Regions from separate parts of the Homo sapiens genome. Here region 1 is linked to region 2. The links are contacts of gene promoters, found by promoter capture Hi-C in human tissues and cell types (Jung and others, 2019). All regions are on one chromosome and are shown on one strand. The core of a region is centred on a gene start or on the middle of the fragment in contact, and the rest is flanking DNA. Distances in the headings are between cores, read along the strand shown. Region 1 has its middle 32 kb from the start of TNFAIP2. Region 2 holds the start of EXOC3L4 (exocyst complex component 3 like 4).

Region 1 (5,216 bases), core at 1,476-3,975, 61 kb after region 2:
CATGTGCAAATTAATTAAACACATACTTTACATATGTGCAGTTTATTGCATGTCAGTTATATCTCAATAAAGTTGTTTAAAAATCATAAAACATTAGTTTTTTGGTCCCATCAGATTGTCAAAAAAATAAACAAACAGGGTGGCCGGGCACGGTGGCTCACGCCTGTAATCCCAGCACTTTGGGAGGCCAAGGTGGGCGGATCACGAGATCAGGAGATCGAGACCATCCTGCCTAACACGGTGAAACCCCGTCTCTACTAAAAGTACAAAAAATTAGCCGGGCGTGGTGGCGGGTGCTTGTAGTCCCAGCTACTCGGGAGGCTGAGTCAGGAAAATGGCGTGAACCCGGGAGGCGGAGCTTGCAGTGAGCGGAGTTCGTGCCGCTGCACTCCAGCTTGGGCGACAGAGCGAAACTCCATCTCAAAAAACAACAACAACAAAAAACCAAGCAAGGTAATTGCCTCTAGTCCTGGCAACTTGTAAGGAAGCCAGCTCCCTATCTGTGAAAGAATGAATTGGCATATGGAATTAACTTTTGAACTATTCATTTGAAAAGTGTTTCTGTTCTTTGCGGAAGAAAAATTATATTGCTCGTCCTTCAGCTGTTATAACTAAGATCCTATTAATGCATTTCATTTTTGACTGGGTAAAACCGAATTCCATGGGTTTGCTTTTTGCTTCTCAGGTAACTAATGAATTTTCAGATCCTCTCCTTAAAAATGAAAATGTGCATTAACAAAAAAAAATCTAAGAGAGGGTTAAAGATTTCTCCTTTCCCCTGAAACCGTGGAGGAGAGATATTCCAAATGATAAAGGTTGATCACAGAATTTGATTGGATAAGGTGTGGAATTAAGACCATTTACAAGAGTATAAATCTTGTTTTCCTATAGGAAATTAGAACTTGTGTGAAACTTTGTAACTGTTATCAGCTTTCCAATCTCTTGATTACCATGAACTGTTATTGAAACAGAAGAGCCTTGCAGTGTTTCTAAGGCTTTAGAGTCTGAGGCCATGGTTTTTGAAAATAACTTCAAATAAAAACCTGGAATTCTGGCTGGGGGCGGTGGCTCTCACCTGTAATCACAGCACTTTGGGAGGCCAAGGCGGGTGGATCACCTGAGGTCAGGAGTTTGAGAAACCCTGAACTCCTTTAGTAGAGAAACCCCGTCTCTACTAAAAATACAAAATTAGCCGGGTGTGGTGGCAGACGCCTGTAATCCCAGCTACTCGGGAGGCTGAGACAGGAGAATCGCTTGAACCCGGAAGGCAGAGGCTGCAGTGAGCCAAGATCACACCATGGCACTCCAGCCTGGGCAAGACAGAACAAGATTTTGTCTCAAAACAAACAAACAAACAAACAAATCCTGGGATTCTGCTTGATTGTCTTGATAACCTGCTGCCTTAGTAGCCCTGTTATAATCACATTTCTGGATTCTTAAGCCATACAGGTCCCTGGGAGAGTCCTCAGAAAAACGAGATGGTTTGCATCCCTGCTGAAATGTTTTTACCTTAGTAAAGAGATTTCTTATCCTAGGCTGGGTGCGGTGGCTCACGCCTGTAATCCCAGCACTTTGGGAGGCCGAGGTGGGTGGATCACCTGACGCCGGGAGTTCGAGACCAGCCTGACCAACATGGAGAAACCCCGTCTCTACTAAAAATACAAAATTAGCCAGGCATGGTGGCGCACGCCTGTAATCCCAGCTACTCGGGAGGCTGAGGCAGGAGAATAGCTTGAACCCAGGAGGTTGTGGTGACCCAAGATCATGCCATTGCACCCCAGTCTAGGCAATAAGAGCAAAACACCTTCTCAAAAAAAAAAAAAAAAAAAAAGAGAGAGATTTTGTATCTTAATAAAGAGATATTGAACAGTATCTTTGAGGTAATAATTCTACTTGTAGGGAATGTATGTTATCAGAAATAATAGGACAAACCTTTGTCATTATTCATACAAGGATTCTCGTTGTAGGGAAAACTAGAAACTCCCAAACTATCCAGCAAGAAGGAAAGAGGAAAACAGTTATACTACACAATGCAGTGTGGCCATTCACACAAGGAGGCAGATCTGTTTCCACTGATCTGGAAAAGCATCCGTGACATGACATTAGTGAAAAATGCAAATTTGTAGAACAGTATCTGTGCAGAATGGCTGTGCTAATATAGATGCGTTGGCACCAAAATGTTCAAGGGGAAGGGGAAGGTGGCAGGATCCAATCTGTACTTCACGTAATCCTTTAAAATGTGTGGGATGGTGGGTGAGTCTTCTCTGTATAGATTTTTGCAAACAAGATGGTATTTTGCATAAATATAGTGGGGAAAGGCATTTAAGACATATTCATGCCTGTAGTGCTTGAGTAATTTAAAATTTCTTATTTTGATATTTAATTTGAACATTTTCTATAAGAAGTGCTTTTAAAACTAGAAAAAAATTTTTTAAAGTCTATATAATAAATTCCTACGGCTTTACTTAAATAAGGGTGCCTAGGATTTTTCTTGAGTATGAACCTGTCACATGGCTGGTTGTGTGCTGAGGCCAGAGGGTGGGACCTTCCCTGAGGGCCGGGCTGGGACATCTCCCCACGAGGTTGGTCAGTCCTTCTGCCAGCTCATCCATGAAGAGTTCAACCCAGGTCAGGGCCGGGCCCTGGCAGCCTGGAGGCTGAGCCTGGCAGGCCCTTCCCTTTTCAAAGGCCAGCACTGTCAGGCACTTTGGTCCAGACTCCAGGCCTGCAGAGGCACAGAGCGCACCAAGGGGGGCAGTGGGAGGGGCCAGTGTGCGACCCCCAGGACAGGCTGGGACCCCAGGACAGGCTCGGACCCCAGGACAGGCTGGGACCCCAGGACAGCCTCAGACCCCAGGACAGGCTCGGACCCCAGGACAGGCCGGGACCCCAGGACAAGCTCGGACCCCAGGACAGGCCGGGACCCCAGGACAGGCTCGGACCCCAGGACAGGCCGGGACCCCAGGACAGGCTGGGACCCCAGGACAGGCTCGGACCCCAGGACAGGCTGGGACCCCAGGACAGGCTCGGACCCCAGGACAGGCTGGGACCCCAGGACAGGCTCGGACCTCAGGACAGGCTGGGACCCCAGGACAGGCTCGGACCCCAAGACAGGCTCGGACCCCAAGACAGGCTGGGCTCAGGCTTCACTTGTCCTGTGTCCTCTGGGTTGCTCTGTTGTTCCACCATCCCTGATCCCACAGTAAAATCCTGTCACCCTCACTGCCTGGTTTCTGCCCCTGTTGGGGGTGAATGAGCAGCTTGTCCTGGGTTTGGGGCAGAGAGGCCTGAAGGAGGAGCCTGGGCTGGGGGCAGCCATGCTCATTTGGGGACAGGGCAGGCTTGGTCAGCAGAGGGGCTCCCCCCCCGGAAGGCAGCTGATTCTCAGGGTTGGGCAGAGTCTGGAACTTCAAGGGCAGGACCCATGTCCTAGGACCAACTCTGTCCACCCTCCCACATCCTCCCGTTGCCATGACCTTGGCCCCATCTCCGTCAAATAGCCTGGCCCTCATACGTGCAGGAGCCCTGGGGTCCTTCCCGAGCCCAAACATTTTTGCAGTGAAGGGCCCTGCCTAGCTTCACCCCATGCAGGCCTGGGCAGGGGCAACTCTGTCAGGTGCCCTCGGCCCCCAGGTCTTTCCCCTGAAAGCAGCGAGCATCTCAGTCGCTCCCACTGCATGGGTGGGTGGAGTTCAGAAGAGTGGGAGAGGAAGGGGAATGCTTACTTTTTCCAAAGCGATCCAAGGATTGTTCTGGAATTGTTTGGCAAGGGCTGTGTGGCCATGTGTTTTTCTAGATTCACTTAAAGAAAAAACAGTGTTGGGGTCCCCAAGGAAATAGGGCATCCAGGCTGCAAGGACAAAAGCCAGGTGGGCTGAGGGGCCGGCGGGGCCAAATCTGTCACGAGGAAGGGGAAACTGAGGCCTGGCCTTGCGGGCCCAGGACCTACCCTGCCCCTTTGCACTGAAGGGAGGGAAGGTCTGAGTCCCCGGGAAGCAGAACTGGGGCCAGCTGGGCAGGGGACAGAAGCTGGGTCACCCCTGGGATACCCAAGCAGAGTGACACAGCCCCTGGGACGGACTTGGCTGGGTCTCTCGTCGGCTCTTTTCTCTCCTGTAAGACGAGAACATGGAAAATCCTTCCCCAGGAGCGGGACGGCCCAGCACACTCCCCCATAGCTGGTGGCAACGCCCTGGAAGTCCCGGCTGTCACGGCTCTGCCTGCCCCTTTCAGATGCTGTCTCAATGACATGTGTCCAGGTCGAGCCTGTTCACCAAGCTTCAGCCCTCCCATCCCTCACCCTGGGGACCAAGAGACAGCTCCAGACTAGCCCAGTCTCTCCCGAGTGCTCAGGTGCTTCCCAGCTTCCTCCAAAGGCCAGCAGTCCCAGCGAAGTCCTGGGAAAGGCAGGACAGCCTCAGGCAGCTCCAGCGAAGGCTGTGACCACTACAGGGAGCACCTCTGCCAGGTGGTGGCCCCAAGGACTGCCCAGGACTGTGGGACACTCAGCTTCCCAGGGGGAGAGGCCCCGGCCCACTGTGGGCAGCACAAACTGGCTGTAGAGGAAGCTCTGGGGGCTATGGGAGCCCCTACCCCAGGGCACGCGGGGACTCAGCCAGGTCCAGGCCTTGCGGGAGGCTCTCTGGGGAGTTGCAGAGGCGCAGTTTCCCTTCCGCGGAGCTGCTTTCTCACCCTAGTGGTGGGACAAGCCCTCTCCCGGGTCCATCCCTTCCCTGCCCCTTCACCCAGGTCCTGAGTACTTCTTCTGAGCCACGGGTGGGTGATTTATGACCCACTTCTCACTACAGAGGAGGCGGGGCAGCTCGCTAACACCAAGCAATGCAAAAAGTCAGTGCGAGGGAAACACAGACTCCAACGTTTTTCACCAAAGTGCTGGTTGAAACACTTTTGAAATCTGGGAAGTCTTGTAATCATGTCAACATATAACCTTCTTTTTAAAAAGCACGAGTTTAGTGGCATGGGCCTGTGGTCCCAGCTACTCAGGAGGCCGAGGTGGGAGGATCGCTTGAGCCTTGGAGCTTGAGGCTGCAGTGAGCCACAGTCGCAGCACTGCTCTCCAGCCTGGGTGACAGAGCGAGACCCTGTCTCTGAAAAAAATTTAAAAACTTGGAGCTTCCGTCGGACGATCCCCTCAGATCAAGGCACCGAGTTACTTTTTCCAAGTTACTTGGAAAGATTGGCCCTTTGGGTCTTGC
Region 2 (5,806 bases), core at 471-2,970:
GGTGGCTCACGCCTGTAATCCCAGCACTTTGGGAGGCCTAGGCAGTCCAATCACCTGAGGTCAGGAGTTCAAGACCAGCCTGGCCAACATGGTGAAACCCCGACTCTACTAAAAATACAAAAATTAGCCGGGTGTGGTGGTGCGTGCCTGTAATCACAGCTACTCAGGAGGCTGAGGCAGGAGAATCACTTGAATCCAGGAGAATCACTTGAATCCAGGAGGCAGAGGTTGCAGTGAGCTGAGATCGCGCCACTGTACTTCAGCCTGGGTGACAGAGAGAGACTCCGTCTCCAAAAAAAAAAAAAATTCGTATGTTGAAGTCCCAATCTTAGAATGTGACCTTATTTGGAAAATTCCTTATAAAAACACGTGACCTTTAAAGAGGTAATAAGTTAAAATTAAGTCATTCGGGTGGACCCCAACCCATATGAAGAGGAAATATGGACACAGACACGAAGTGGGAAGGCCCTGTGTTGACCCAGGAAGAAGGGGGGGCGCTACCCACAGACCCAGAAAACAGCCCCAGGAGAAACCAGCCCCACACATGCCTTGACTGTGGGCCTCTGGCTTCCAGAACTGGGAGAGAATAAACGTCTGTTGTTGAGGCTCAGTCCCTGGTCCTGTCGTGGCAGCCCTAGGACACTGGATGCATGGGGCCGTCCCTGCCCTCAGCCCTAGGATGCTGGTGCACTGGCCTGTCTCTGCCCTCAGCCCTAGGACAGTGGGTGCATGGGGCCGTCCCTGCCCTCAGTCCTAGGATGCTGGTGCACCGGCCTGTCTCTGCCCTCAGCCCTAGGACACTGGGTGCATGGGGCCTTCCCTGCCCTCAGTCCTAGGATGCTGCTGCACGGGGCCACCTCTGCCCTCAGCCAGAGGATGCTGGTGCAGGAGGCTATTTCTGCCCACCTCAGCACCCTGCAGCAGCCCCATCACACACCCTGGTGGCCCCAGCCCAGGTTGGGACAGGCCTGGATCCGTTCTCCTTGGATTTTCCCTGAGTTGTTTCCTAAGACGCTCGCTGCGGAATCCCCCTATGCAGGGGTGAGGCTGCCTCTTCTGGGAAGTGTCAGTGGCCCTCCCTGCGGCACGTTGCCCGCCTGACCCCCTGGTGTGGGGAGTGGGGCCCCGCCTCCACATCTTTGCCCCTGCCCAGGATGCCGTCCCTTCTCACTTCTGAGTGTGTCCTGTCTGTCCCTAGGGCCCCATCCCTTTCTCTAGCTCCTGAAGCCCCCAGGAATGGCATGTGGCTCTCAACTGCTGCCTTTGCTGTCACCGTGAGCTTCCCTGACAGGCAGGGTGCAGGGGTCTCGGGATGAACTCGATGGACTGGCCCAGTGCTAGAGCCTCTGTCCTGGAGGGAGGGGTCCTTCTGGGCTCCGGCACTGTGGGCTGAGTGTCCCCCGAGGCCAGCGCCTGCTTCCGCTGGCCTCTGAGCAAAGGAGAGGTTGGTGGTGTTTTGGGTGGCAGGCAGCGTCCACCCCCTGCTGCCTCGAGACCCTGAGTGCCGAGCTCCGCAGCCTTCCCCTCCCTTGTTCTCTGACCCTTGGACTGAGCCCTGAGCTGTCTGGAATGGAAAGCTGGAGTGACTGCCTCCGGAACGAAAAGGAAGTGGGAACTTCTCTGAAAGTGAAAGTATGGGGTCCTGGTGGAGGGTAGGGCTGTGGGTGGGGCCGGGTGGGCCTGGCAGGCGCTGACCATGGCTGGGAAGTCCCAGCTGTTGGTCACTCGCTCAGGCTGCTCTAGAGGCCCCATAGCCAGGGCCCGGCTCTGAGGGCCCCACGGGCCAGCTTCTCAGGGGGCTGTGTTCTTCCTGGGCCAAGGCTGCGTGCTCAGCAGGTATGTTCTGGGCAGGTGGAGCAGGAGGGCATGGGGTGCTGTGGGCGGGCTTGAGGACCATTCCGGCTCTGCGTGTGGCCTTCCAGGCCAAGGGCCTCACTCAGAGCCCAGGCCGACCAGGCCAGAGGGCCAGCGCAAATCACAGTGGACACACACACACCCGATACACAGGCAGACACACTCAGGTAGAAAGCACAGATAGACAGACACAGAAGACACCAAGATGGGCATGCAGGCACAGACACAGACTCAGAAGCACTGGCAGACCCTCTGGGGACACTCCAGGGCAGAGTCATGCACATACAGGGAGACACTCTCAGGCCAACACACAGATGTGCAAAACCGACGCCCAGAAAAGTGTGTATATGCCCGCGCGCTCAAGCTCAGGCATCAGATTCACTTTCCTGGTTTCCCCGGGAAAGTGCCGAGTACTAGCCATGGCTGGGGGCTGAGTCAGGCTCACTCCCTGCCTTGCGGGTCTCCTGGTCTCCAGGCTCTGTAACTGTCCCTCCGTCATGGCAGGTGTGCCCAGGGCTGGGATCAGGCCCACAGCAGGAGGTGCCGAACATGGTATGGGCTCAGCTGGTCCGGGAAGGCTTCTTGGGGGAGGAGCCATTTCTGCTGAGCCTTCAATGAGTTGACAACTGAAGAAGGAGGGGCTGAGGTCATTGTAGGCAGAGAGGATGGCCTGTGCAAAGGTGTGGAGGAGAGGTGGGTACTTCTGAGTGATCAGAGTGAGGGAATGAGTTGGGACTGAAGCCAGAGGGGTCATTAGGAGAGGCCTTGAATGCCAAGCTAAGGATGGAGCTGTGCTTCTTCCGAGGGCAGCAGCGGCTCAGGGGGCTTATGCTTTGTTGCTACTGTGAAGGGAAGTCTTTTAAGTGTCTCTTTCTAATAGGCTTTGCTAGGGTATAGGAAAGGTGTTGCTTGTATTTACATAATCAATGCACAAAATTTACTAAACCCTTTTATTAGCTCCAATAATTTTCAGCCTCAGATTTTCTAAGCCAACAATCATATCACCTATGAATAATGACAGTTTAATCTGCTCCTTCCCAGTGTTTACATCTCTTATTTATTTTTCTTTCCTTATTGCCTTAACTAGTTCTTCCAGCCAAATGTTGAGGAGTAAGAATGGTGAGAACAAACATCCTTGTCATTTTCCTTATTTGCAGGGGCTGGAAGGAAAAGGAAAGCTTGCAAGGAAAGCTTTCAAAGGAGGTTTATAGGGCCGGGCATGGTGGCTCACTCCTGTAATCCCAGCACTTTGGGAGGCTGAGGCAGGAGGATTATTTGAGGCCAGAAGTTTGAGACCAGCCTGGGCACACATAATGAGACCCCTGTCTCTACAAAAAATATAAAAATTAGCCAGGCATGGTGTTGCGCACCTGTAGTCCCAGCTACTTGGGACGCTTAGGTGGGAGGACTGCTTGAGTCCAGGAGTTTGAGGCTGTGGTGAGCTATGATCGCATCCCTGCACTCCAGCAGTGGGTGAAGTGACACAGCGAGACCTCGTCTCTAAAAACAATAAACAAAGGAGGTTGACGTTTTGGCAAGATTCTTTTTTTTTTTGCAATTGTAAGATTTAGTAGAGTGAAAACAGAGCTCCTATACAAAAGGAGGGGACCCAAAGAGGGTAGCTGTTGCCAGCTCAAATGCCTGGGTTTATATCCCGATCATTGTCCCTCCCACTGTGCTCTCAGGCGATAGATGATTGGCTATTTGTTTACCTCCTGTTTTTGCCTAATTAGCATTTCTGTGAGCTCTCTTTAATACCTGATTGGTCGGGTGTGAGCTAAGTTGCAAGCCCCATGTTTAAAGATGGATGCAGTCACCTTCCCAGCTAGGCTTAGGCATTCTTAGTCGGACTAGGAAATCCAGCTAGTTCTGTCTCAGTCCCCCCTCTCAACAGGAAAACCCAAGTGCTGTTGGGGAGGTTGGCCAACGACCGTCTAAGTGCTAGGCAAGATTCTTATGACTGATCCGAGGAGGCAGCATTGAGGGGGCCTGGGAAGGAGAGCAGCTCGGAGGCTGTGATCAGGTGAAGGTGGATGGCAGGTGGGGAAGTGAGAGGGGACAAGCCCCGCACAGGGCTTCGGCCCAGGGCACAGTACAGGCAGTCACCTGCAAGAGGCTCCTTTGGAGCGTTGAGGAGTGGAGCGATGGTCCAGTCCCAGCGTAGTTGGGGAGGCTGGGGAGTGGGTGAGCACTGCAGAGTGATTGGGAGGATGAGGAGCAGCTACGGGAGGGAAGGTCTAGGGGAAAGCGGGGAGTAGAAGCTGAGGCTGGGGGTAGGGAGGGTGGGGAAGTTCGGACTTGACTTCTCGGACACAGCTAGGGTGGCCCAGGGTGGGAGCTCTCAGTGACTGTGTCTCTGGGTGGTTTCTTGCCCCTGCTGCTGGCCCCACAAAGGGTGTATTAGCCTGACCTGGGGAGAGTGGGACCCGGGGCTCAGGCCGGGCGTCAGTCTCTGGGGCCTTGCAATCAGGGAGCGGCAGCATAGGAGCCGGGGCCCCCTGGACTCTCCGGGCACTGGGGACAGAGAGACGCAGAGAGAAAAGAGAGCCAGAGAGAGTCCATGGGGGTGTGGGGAGGCAGGCACAGGGACAGGCCAGGCGAGAGCCTTGGGAGGTGGAGGGGGGAGTTGAGAGGGGCCTTCAGGTCTCAGCCCCGCAGGCGCCAGCATGGCAGCAGGCAGGCCAGCCGGGGGTGGCAGGGCGACCCTGATACCGATGTTCCGCCTGCTTCCAGGCTGTGCTCAGGGGTGACCGGGGTAGATGGACAGAGGCTGCCAGCCCAGTGCAGGAGGGCCACATCATCACAGGGACAGTGCCGAGTACCCACTGAGCAGATAGATGGTGACGGCCGGTGGTGCAAGGCATCTGAACCCCGAGGTCCTGAAACCCAAGTCAGGTTTGGAGAACAAACAGGGGCCAGGAAAGGGAATGGCCGGAGGGGAAGCTGGAGGCTGGGCGTGCAGCCGGGAGGACAGAGAAGAAGCTGGGTGGGGTGCAGGTTGTCCGTGAACCCCAGGGGAAGCTGGTGAGGTGTCATCAGCGGGAGGTGGGGGGTGGAGGAAGGAGGTTCCAGGATGGATGCCCGGCTGTGGGGCTCGGGCAGGAGGGAACCATGGAAGGGCTTAAAGCAGGGGAGTGACCTGGCTGGACTTTTGCTTTGGGAAGGTCGAGAATAGCTTGGGAAGCTGTTGGGAGCTGCAGGGTCGAAGGTGGCATGGCTGGAGGCTGAGGGGCCATCTGGGGACCTCACTGGCCCTTCAGCGAAGTTCTGGTTTGGGACAAAAGCAGGCTGAGTGACCCCCAAGCCTCTGCCTATGTAACCTCCTAAGAGATTCACCGCACAGCTGCCCCTCCTTACCCGGCGCTCGTCTGGGCTTCCTGGGAGAGAACCTCCACATCTGACCCCACTCTGGGACCTGCTGACACCTTGGGTCTCTCCGCCGGGAGGGGAGCTTCTGGGCGGCAGTTCTGAGTCCCTGGGGGTGGAGACGTGGCAGGTCCCGCCTCTGCTCCCAGCTCCAAGCAGGCTCCCCAGCCTGAGTGCGCGGCCAGGGGCAGACTCTGTCCCTCTGTGAGCCTCAGGTTCCTCATCTGTGAAATGGGCAAATGACAACCCCTAACTTTGATGTCACAGTAGCTGATCTGTGTCAGGCATCGAGCTGGGCACACAGTAGGTGCTTACTAAGTGTGAGTTCTCCCAAACAAGAAGGCGGGGCCTGGCTTGTCCTTCCCCACATCCCCGCCTCCGTCCTCTTGACAGCGGTGGATGCAGCATGTGCTGAACCGTTCTCTTCACAACACCCCTGCCCTGCTGGGCGCCGGCCCCCATGCCAAGCATGAAGGGGCACCGGGGAGAGAGAAGCGAGTGGAGGCTGGGACAGATGGTGCCCTGAAGTGTGGGTCAAGTCCGAATCAGGCAGGGTCCCTGAACCCTGGCGCTGGGGGAAGTCGCC

Evidence for each region. Contacts are between HindIII fragments. The study calls those that stand out against the background at their distance.
Region 1: a contact is called between a fragment that was not itself captured here and the fragment with the promoter of EXOC3L4 in region 2, in 1 of the 25 tissues and cell types used here (IMR-90 fibroblasts).

Annotation. Positions count from the first base shown.
Region 1 is chr14:103,152,605-103,157,820 of GRCh38, forward strand. No RefSeq gene overlaps it. Among named protein-coding and RNA genes, the nearest start is that of TNFAIP2, 32 kb to the left of the region's middle. RefSeq lists enhancers at 2,468-2,762, 3,487-4,225, 4,226-4,963. The HindIII fragment of the contact is 5,254 bases long and covers 99-5,216 here.
Region 2 is chr14:103,093,005-103,098,810 of GRCh38, forward strand. It overlaps EXOC3L4 (exocyst complex component 3 like 4), which reads left to right and starts at 1,721. Exons shown (of 12, transcript NM_001077594.2): 1 at 1,721-1,836. RefSeq lists enhancers at 590-1,159, 1,730-2,299 and a silencer at 5,343-5,512. The HindIII fragment of the contact is 13,551 bases long and covers 400-5,806 here.